Regions from separate parts of the Homo sapiens genome. Here regions 1 and 3 are each linked to region 2. Evidence: promoter capture Hi-C in 16 types of primary human blood cells and fetal thymus (Javierre and others, 2016). All regions are on one chromosome and are shown on one strand. The core of a region is centred on a gene start or on the middle of the fragment in contact, and the rest is flanking DNA. Distances in the headings are between cores, read along the strand shown. Region 1 overlaps GIGYF2 (GRB10 interacting GYF protein 2). Region 2 holds the start of SAG (S-antigen visual arrestin). Region 3 overlaps GIGYF2 (GRB10 interacting GYF protein 2).

Region 1 (3,069 bases), core at 57-2,556, 520 kb before region 2:
TATTATTAGGCAATCTTTTCTTCTGTTGGGAAATGTAGATTTGGGAATGTCCGTAGGGGTATTATATGGATAGGGAGAATTAAGAGATGAGAAAGAAGGGAGAGGAGTAAGTATGTTATTGTGGAACAAGCAGCAGAGGGTGCAGAATTGGATTTTAGTTCTACTTTGCCATGTGCGAGTTACTTCTGCTGGCAAAGTTTTAGTTTCTTCTTAAACTATAAAATTAGGATAGTGAACTTCATAAAATCTCTGTGACAACTTTCAGCACTGTAATTTTGTGAATTTTTGGGGGAGGATCAGAATTACAAGTGGGAACCTGGCATTAATAAATAGTCATGATGAGTTTGATATAAGTCAACACAGGGAGCTGATTTTATCCACAAACAATGATATTTTCATGGGAAGAAAGAAAATGCTTTAAGATTGGGCAAAAGGAAGGTGTAAACTTCAGTATGGAAGGATGTCTAGTGCATTAAGTCTGGATGAGGAGTTGGCGGCTAATCAGTATTTTAATCAAGTACCTAGGACTTACTGAAAGTGCGTACTTGGAATACAGTGTCCTTTAAATGTACTGCATTTTAGATTTATCTTTTAAAGCTTTAGAGTATGTTGCCTGGCTCAGTACTTAAGTACTGTTGTCATCTCGTAATGGTACATATACTCTGAACTCTGAACTTCATTTAGTTGCCTAATGTTCTCTTTACTAGGTCAGTCCATTTGAGTTTGCGGTCACTTGTAGTTTTCTCCTTTATTTTCTATTCCTGATTTTCTTATTCAAATACTGTCATAAAACTTTTCTAAGGTTTGTGTCCTCCTTCTCATCTCAGATGGCCCTCGTTCTGCAGGCTGGCGGGAACACATGGAACGACGTCGGAGGTTTGAGTTTGATTTTCGAGATAGAGATGATGAACGGGGTTACCGAAGGGTTCGCTCTGGCAGTGGGAGCATAGATGATGACAGGGATAGCTTGCCCGAATGGTGCTTAGAGGATGCTGAAGAAGAAATGGGTACATTTGACTCATCTGGAGCATTCCTTTCTCTAAAAGTAAGAAACGTGTTTTAAATGTCATGACCAGCATTAACCTTATACCAAAGCCAAATCTGCTGTTGATCTTTGGTTTTATTCTCTTTCTACAGAAAGTACAGAAAGAGCCTATTCCAGAAGAGCAGGAGATGGACTTCCGGCCTGTGGACGAAGGGGAGGAGTGCTCTGACTCTGAGGGTAGCCATAATGAAGAGGCCAAAGAACCCGATAAGACAAATAAGAAAGAAGGAGAGAAAACAGATAGAGTAGGAGTTGGTAAGGCCTCTTCTTGCCCTTTGCCTTTTTTTTCCTCCATCAAACCAAAACTTTCGTAAGTTCAACTAAGATTACTTCGTGTTCCAGAAGCTAGTGAGGAAACTCCCCAGACCTCATCATCATCTGCTAGACCAGGTACTCCTTCAGACCATCAGTCTCAGGAAGCATCACAGTTTGAGAGGAAAGATGAACCAAAAACTGAGCAAACGGAAAAAGCTGAAGAGGAGACTCGGATGGAAAATAGTCTACCAGCCAAAGTGCCCAGCAGAGGGGATGGTATGTATTTGTGGGAATAGACAAGCTAAAATAGGATTCTGCTGAGGCCAGTGATCACTGATAAGTTAGGCTTCTGCTTATGCCTCCTAGAACTGCTTTTAGTGGGTGAATTATCGGAATAGATTATTTTACCAGTAAACCCAGTCAAACAGTGCTTCTCACGTATGTGTCCATCTCAGAATTACCAAAACAGAGTTCGAATCTGCAAGGGTGGAGCTCTGGAATCTCATGTCCTAAGGTGTTATGACATAGCCACCCTGTCATTACTGGTGAACTGGGTGTCATAGCCTTTGCATTAGTTTGATTCCCGTATTAGACAGTTACCTTCCTTTCATGTGTTGACTAATTATGTGCCCAGCTTAAATTACCAGATGACACACCAAAATGCCATTTTTCTAAAAGAGGACAAGTAGAGAACATATGTGAATCTGTGGCAGAATAAGCTTAAAACATATCTCTTTCAGTTGTTAGTGTATTGGTTTAAGTTGCTCATACACTTTATTAGGCAATATTAATGCTCATTTCCATGTTTCTTCTTGTACGTATTTAAAAATGTCATTGTAATGCCTGACGTTGAAGGGTTACTTGATTCATTTACCATAAAAATTGATACCCTTTAACATGGCATATGAGACACTGCACAATCTGGCATCTGCTTCCCTTTGTGCAGTTTCATTGCCAGCCTCTTTACTTCCCTCACGTTCTACTTACCAGCCTCAAAGCCTTTTAGGTCCTGAACTGTCTCCTGTTTTCTAGGATTCGTACCTTAGCACATCCTTTTCTCTGTTCTTGAAACTCTCTTCCACCCAAAGCCCCCAAACTAGGGTAGGTGTCTTCTTCGTTTCTTAAACAACCAGGCTTATTTCTAACATAGCATTATAATATCATAAAGATGTTTATTACCTTGTTTTCCCAGTAGACTAATATTTTGAGAGCTCAAACCCAGGAATTTTTCAATTTTTTAAATGTCTAGAACAAAGCTGATTATTTTTTTAAAGAGATGGGATTAACTGGGTGTGATGGCACGTGCTTGTAATCCCAGCTACTCGGGAAGCTGAAATGGGGGAGATCACTTGAGCCCAGGAGTTTGAGAACAGTGTGGACAACATAGCAATAGCAAGACCCCTGTCTCTAAAAACAAAACAACAACAAAAATGAGACAGGGCCTCACTATGTTGTTCAGGCTGGATCCGAACTCCTGGGCTCAAGTGATCCTCCTGCCCTTAGCTTCCTGGTTAGCTCAGCAAGTATTTGAATCTGTGCTCTACATAGCAGGCACTGTGAGACTGATATATCTTTGAGGCAGTTTGATTTGTAGTAGGATATGCCCCAGAACTACTTGTGGTACATTCTTTTGAATGTACGTGCTTGAAGCCTTATTCAGGAAATTCTTGGATCAAGTCTAGATATATATATTCTGAGAAGGCTTCATAGATGTACATTAAAGGTCGAAACTCCAGATTTATAGTGTGTAGAGGAGATAAAGTGTGCAT
Region 2 (3,518 bases), core at 334-2,833:
CCTCATGGAGCCTGGACTCCAGTGAGGGAAGAGAGACTGTAGAATAATTCCCAAGCAAGAGTGAAATGTGGCCAGGCACGGTAGCTCATGCCTATAATCCCAGCACTTCAGGAGGCCAGGAGTTTGACACCAACCTGGCCAACATGACGAAACCCCATCTCTATTAAAAATACAAAAATTAGCTGGGCATGCTGGTGCACAACTGTAATCCCAGCTACTCGGGAGGCTGAGACAGGAGAATCGCTTGCACCCAGGAGGTGGAGGCTGCAGTGAGCCGAGATCGCGCCACTGCACTCCAGCCCAGGCAACAGAGTGAGACTCTATCTCGAAAGCAAAAAAAAAAAAGAGTGAAATGCAAGCGTGCCTCCAATCTGGTCCTGGAGGTTGGGGATAGCTCCCCTGAGGAAGTGACTCCTGGTCAAAAATCTGAAAGGCCAAGAAGAGTCAACAAAGTGGAGAGAGGAGAGGCTTGTTCCAGGCAGAAATAATAGTGGGAAGGAGGAAGCGTGGCAGACGGCGTGGAAGGAAAGGCAGGCAGAGGTTCCAGAGGCTGCAAGCTTTTTGCCTGCATTCTAAGAGCAATGGGTGATTGTAAGCGAGGGATGACAGGGCTCAGAAGGTCTCTCTGCCTCTGTGTGGAAAAGGGCTTGGAGGGTAGAAATAAATGTGGTCGGCTGGGTGCGGTGACTCATTCCTGGAATCCCAGCACTTTGGGAGGCCGAGGCAGGTGGATCACCTGAGGTCAGGAGTTCGAGACCAGCCTGGCCAACATAGTAAAACCCTGTCTCTACTAAAAATACAAAATTAGCTCAGTGTGGTGGTAGGCGCCTGTAGTCCCAGCTACTCTGGAGGCTGAGGCAAGAGAATCACTTGAACCTGGGAGGCAGAAGTTTCAGCAAGCTGAGACTGCACCACTGCACTTCAGCCTGGGAGGCAGAAGTTTCAGCAAGCTGAGACTGCACCACTGCACTTCAGCCTGGGAGACAGAGCAAGACTCCATCTCAAAACAAAAAACAAAACAAAAAAAAGAAAAGAAATAGATGTAGTCAGACAGTGGGGAATCACTCCGGTCCTGAGAAGCAAAGGCGGTGCTGGGGATGGGAGGATGCAGACAGGTTCCAGAGACACTGAGGGGATCAACAGGACTCCTGAAGCCATCAATCAGTAGGACCGGGTGGAGGAGAGGGACAGATCCAGCTTGGCTTGCATAACACCAGGTTCATCTTGAGGTTGACATTTCTCCTTGACCTTTTTGTTTAGTCCCCACCCGCAAGGTCGCATTAGCTGCCTGCTGAGTTTAATCAAATCTCTTCCTGTCCTGGCAATGCCCGGGAATGAAGAGATAATCAGTCTATTTCCAGAATCCAAAGAGGTTTAGAAGAAAAAGTAGCTTTCATTTAGCTGTTGGCCCTCCCACCAACCTTCCCCAAGTCAGCTGGGTGACTCATACATCTGTGAGACCCTCCGTATGGAGACCGGGGCGGGGGGTGTTGCTTAATGCTTAGAACTGCTGAAACTACCAGTTCACTGTCTCAGCACTAATCCAACTCTGCTCCTTAAGTGGGATTTGGCTTTTAGACATTGAGACCTGGATGCTGGGCATCCTCGCTAGATCCCCTACAAATTCCCCACATACGTAGGCCAGGAGCCTCAGCGGTGCCCCTTCAGGCTCATCTGGCAAGACGGTACCAGCTTGCTCAGAACAGGGGCTGGCTATTCATCATCTCAGAGCATAGAGACCCTCTCCTTGCCACCCGGCCCTTCCCACCTGGTTGGTGACAAATCACAAGGTATGTGACCACCACAGGCCAAAACCTTATCAGAAACCTGGGGCAGGTGTGGGGAAGAGCAAGGATGGGCGTTTTCCTGCAGACAGTATGTCCCGCCTTCACCTTTTCTGTGTGGTTTCCATAAGACTTGGTTGCTATTTAAGGAGACTTGGAGTGAGCGGGTGCAATGGCTCATGCCTATAGTCCCAGTGACTCAGGAGGCTGAGGCTGGAGGATCACTTGAAGCCAGGAATTCGAGACCAACTTGAGCAATACAGTCAGACCCAGTCTCTACAAAAAAACAAAAATAAAAATAAATTAGCTAGGCATGGTGTCACACACCTGTAGTCCTGGCTACTCAGCTGGCTGAGGCAGGAGGATCACGAGCCCAGGAGTTCGAGGCTGCGGTGAGCTATGATTGTGGCACTGCCCTCCAGCCTGGGCAACAGAACGAGCTCCTATATCTTAAAAAAAAAAAAAACCTCAGAGTATGCTTAATTCTAGACCGCTAAGATGGCCTCTTAATTGTAAAACAGAGTGGCTATCTCTTAGTAGGAATTGCCAAATAGAACTTTTGGGATTTTAATATATTCTTTTTTTTTAAAAAAAGTGATAGGATCTTGCTATGTTGCCCAGGCCAGTCTCCAACTCCTGGTTTCAAATGATCCTCTCGCTTCAGCCTCCCAGAATGTTGAGATGACAGGTGTGAGCCACAGTGCCCGGCCATTAATATCTTCTTGAAAACAGTCTTTGCGAAGTGGTTATGTTGTGGTTTTCAGGAACTTTTCTGATTTATTCGCCATTAGACACAGTCACGATAGAACTTTAAATTCAACCTGGCTAAGTGTGATAACACCAAAGGTTAGTCAGAAAGTAAAACCTCATTGGAATCTAGCTAGACTCCCTGGCAAGGTGTACTGAGAAATGTTTGAAGCTTACCAAGAAAAATAAAATATTGAAAACACCCCAAAGCATGCTGCAGTAAAATACAAACTAAGCAAAGACTCACCGATGAAACTCGGATGTTGAAGCCGGTACAAGGGCATGGTGAGGACGCACAGGATCTCGTGAGTAGGTTTCATAACTAGGATGTTCTTGACTTGATATTTAGGATTGTCTTACCTTTCTCCAACCCTCTAACACCTGACCAACACCCCAAGGTGGTAGAAGTTGCCAGGGACAGATAACATGGCAGCCAGCGGGAAGACCAGCAAGTCCGAACCGAACCATGTTATCTTCAAGAAGATCTCCCGGGACAAATCGGTGAGTGGTGCACAAGTGAGTGATTTGATAGAAATTATTGTTTAAAAAAAATGGAGCTTTTTCAAGTACAGTGTAGTCATGATCAACATCAAAACTCTTTGAGGGCCAGGGCGCGGTGGCTCATGCCTGTAATCCCAGCACTTTGGGAGGCGGAGGCGGGATAACTTGAGGCCAGGAGTTCGAGACCAGCCTGGCCAACATGGCAAAACCCATCTCTACTAAAAATACAAAAATTAGCTGGGTATGGTGGCAGGCACCTGTAATCCCAGACTTGGGAGGCTGAGGCACAAGAATCACTTGAACCCAGGAGGTACAGGTTGCAGTGAGCCCAGATGGTGCCACTGCACTCTAGCCTGGGTAGCAGAGGGAGACTCTGTCTCAAATAAAAAACAAACAAACACTGTGAGGGCCAGGGAAGCTTTGTGTCTATTTTTGTCTCTGTCTAAGATGGATGATCACTGAGCTATAAATGAGTGAATGAACTGC
Region 3 (3,110 bases), core at 139-2,638, 580 kb before region 2:
CATGCAAATATATTGAGAGAATTGCCTGTCTCAGAATAAGGTATAGTGTATGATTCTTGCTTTATAATAGCAAATAGCTAATCCCCTTTCCCCACCACATATATGTGAACATGTTTGTCTGAATGTGAAGTATGGAGGGATACACACTAGGCTGTTAACATGTTTACCTCAGGAAATGGGAATAGCGGGGAGGCAAGAGTAATTATGAACTTGGAGGTTAATATGGGTCTATTTTAGTTACAGAGAATGTGGTGAGAATAGTACCTCAGGGGGAGAAAACTAGAGTCAGTGAATTTGAGTTTAGTGAAGGGTTTGGGCTAGAGATCTCTACCTCTGTGGTCTTTCTCTTTCTTCCTGTATCAGCCTGTACAGTGATTGCTGAGGCTTTGTTCCTGTTCTTTCTTGAGATTTCTGCTTTGGGGTAGCCTTATTCAATTTTTGATTGTAACTCTGTGGATTCACTTCCGTTAAATCTGTCTTTCTATTCTGACTACTCTTCAACTCTAGGTCTTTTGGATACTTCCTCAGTCAAGCACCTTGCACTTACTTTGTTCAAAACCATCCTCGTTATCTGTCTCCCCAAATTCGTTTTTCTGTTTTCTGCTTCCTTTTAAGCTTTATAATACACATTTGAAAAATACCCGCAACATTGAGTCCTATAGATTCCATTCCATTTCTGTATCCTGTGTTTTAGATTTTCCCTTCCAGAGGGAGCAGTGCTTTTACTACTTTGGGAACTATTTTATGGAGTAGGTGTTTGAATAGATCCTTGGTTTTGTATGAGCCATTCTAAGGGAGGGAGGTCAGGCTTCTGGGGGAAGGGTATGTCATAGCACAACTAAAGAGGAAGGAAAATGCAGTGGACGGTAGAAAGTTCTCATTTGGCTTTGAGTTGGGAGGTGAAACAATAGGAGATTGAGTTGGGGAGGGAGGCATGGGTTGTCAGATTGACGATACATAGTAGGTTCGATTGGACTTTTTTAGAGGAGTGTAGGCCATGATCAGAAAGGTGCCTTAGGAAAATTGATCTTGAGGCCCAGTCAGGGAAGCAAATAAGAACTTTTGTTAGAATAATCCAGACATGCATTAATAGAGTTTGGACTATAATGAAAGAGGAATCTTGAAGAAGTAGGCTAAATTTGAGACAAAATGAATGGATATAAGGGATGGAGTAGAGAGAGTTTCAGATGATCTAGGCTTTTGAGACTGGCTGACCAGTAAACTGAAAACAGTAGTGCCTTGATGATATGATCAGTCAGTGATCCCATGCCACATTGGTCATGGGAGAAAAAAATCAAATTTGTAATTAATTGCAGGGGTGGGATCATCTCTCCCAGCTAGTGGCCGGTTACAAATTTGTGGGCAGATGTTTTAATTGCTGTTGTTAAAATGACACCCCTACTCTCTGCATGCCCTCTTTGCCATTCCGTAATTTAGAGGGAAATAAAGATGGGCAAAGAAATACCAGGATAGTGCTGGTAATGGAGGAAAAGGGAGGTCATAGTTTCAACAAAAAACAGTCTACAGAGGCAGGATAGCATGATGGAGCAGAGTGTCCAGAGTCTGGTTCAAATCCTGAATTGCTTTATAAACTCAGAGACCTTTCCTTTTCCTTTTCCTTTTCCTTTTCTCTTTCCTTTTCCCTTTCCCTTCTCTTTTTCTTTTCATTTTCCTTACTGGGTCTGGCTCTGTTGCCCAGGCTGGAGGGCAGTGGTGTGAACAAGGCTCACTGCAGTCTCGACCTCCTGGGCTCAAGCAGTCCTCCCACCTCAGCCTCCCAAGTAGCTTGGACTGCAGGAGCATACCACCACGCGTGACTAACTTTTGTATTTTGTGTAGAGATGAGGTTTTTGTCATGTTGTCCAGACTGTTCTTGAACTTCTGAGCTCAAGTGATCTGCATGCCTCAGCTTCCCAAAGTGCTGAGATTACAGGTGTGAGGCACTGCATCCGGCCTCCAGAGCTGTTTTCTAAAGGTTACAAGTCTTCTAGGCGTTTGAGCTGAAAACATTTGGATAGCTGGGGTTTAAATGTTGCCCTAAGCTGCTTTGAATCATAAAGAAGAATGAGCAGAACACTGTTCTGAGTAATGCAGGTCTCTTTATTTGATAATTAAATAACTTGGTTTATTATTTTTAGGTTTTTTTTTTTAATTAACCTCTCAAGCTTTTATTTAAATGCCATGACCCAGGATGGATTTTAGATTTTGTTGAAAGCAGCCACATCCATGGACTGCACATAGTCTTCAAAAGCAGTGATCTGCTTCTCCAGCTTATCTGTTCCAACTTTATCATCTTCAACTTCACAACGTATTTGAAGTTTCTTAATTCTGTATCCCACTTGAACTAGTTTAGATGAGCCCCAGACTAAGCCATCTGCTTGAATGCCTCTGATGCACTCCTCTAATTTTGCCATATCTGTCTTATCATCCCAAGGTTTCACATCTATAAGATGGAAGACTTGGCAACGAGTGCAGGTTTTTTGGCTTTCTTCGATTCATATTGTGGAAGGTGTTCTTCCCTTAGCCTCTTCGTTTCTTCACTTTTCTCCTCCCATCAGCTCCAAAGAGATCAATGTCATCATCATCTTTACTATCTTTAGCTCCTCTTCCTATAGTGTCTTCCATATCCACAGGACCATACTTGACCAAAGCCTTCTTCACTCCTGGAAGGCTGGCCTTTTCTTTTTCGTAAGACTTGATGTGATTATACCAACGAAGGGCATAACACAAGTCAGCAGGCGGTGGGCCAGATGCTGCTTCAAATACTGCCACATCTGCTTGTGATGGCACATACCCCTCGATGTAGCTCTTGTCCGCCAGGTAATTGTTGAGCACCTGGAGGCCGGCAGGGCTTTTCAGGTCTCTGAAATCCATGGCATCAGCTGTACCTGAGAGCTGAGGAGCAGCAGAAAGAGCTCAAGTTGTGGGCACCCTGTGCTGAAAGAGGAAAAAAATATTCTTAGGTTTTTAAGAGTTCTTCAGAAATCTTTACTTTAGGGGCCGGGTGCAGTGGCTCACGCCTGTAGTCCCAGCACTTTGGGAGGCCGAGGCAGGTGGATCATTTAAGGTTGGGAGTTCGAGACCAGCCTGGCCAACATGGTGAAACCCCG

What was found. The method cuts DNA at HindIII sites, captures the fragments that hold promoters and counts their contacts. A CHiCAGO score of 5 or more calls a contact.
Region 1: a contact is called between a fragment that was not itself captured here and the fragment with the promoter of SAG in region 2, in 2 of 17 cell types (monocytes and total B cells). The highest score is 5.8, in monocytes.
Region 3: a contact is called between a fragment that was not itself captured here and the fragment with the promoter of SAG in region 2, in 1 of 17 cell types (monocytes). The highest score is 5.3, in monocytes.

Annotation. Positions count from the first base shown.
Region 1 is chr2:232,789,871-232,792,939 of GRCh38, forward strand. It overlaps GIGYF2 (GRB10 interacting GYF protein 2), which reads left to right. Exons shown (of 29, transcript NM_001103146.3): 10 at 828-1,045; 11 at 1,138-1,300; 12 at 1,388-1,576. Among named protein-coding and RNA genes, the nearest start is that of KCNJ13, 15 kb to the left of the region's middle. The HindIII fragment of the contact is 1,422 bases long and covers 596-2,017 here.
Region 2 is chr2:233,306,233-233,309,750 of GRCh38, forward strand. It overlaps SAG (S-antigen visual arrestin), which reads left to right and starts at 1,584. Exons shown (of 16, transcript NM_000541.5): 1 at 1,584-1,790; 2 at 2,930-3,032. The coding sequence starts at 2,958. The HindIII fragment of the contact is 2,146 bases long and covers 556-2,701 here.
Region 3 is chr2:232,727,325-232,730,434 of GRCh38, forward strand. The region is part of intron 2 of GIGYF2 (GRB10 interacting GYF protein 2); the gene reads left to right. It also overlaps the pseudogene EEF1B2P7. Among named protein-coding and RNA genes, the nearest start is that of GIGYF2, 32 kb to the left of the region's middle. The HindIII fragment of the contact is 1,550 bases long and covers 614-2,163 here.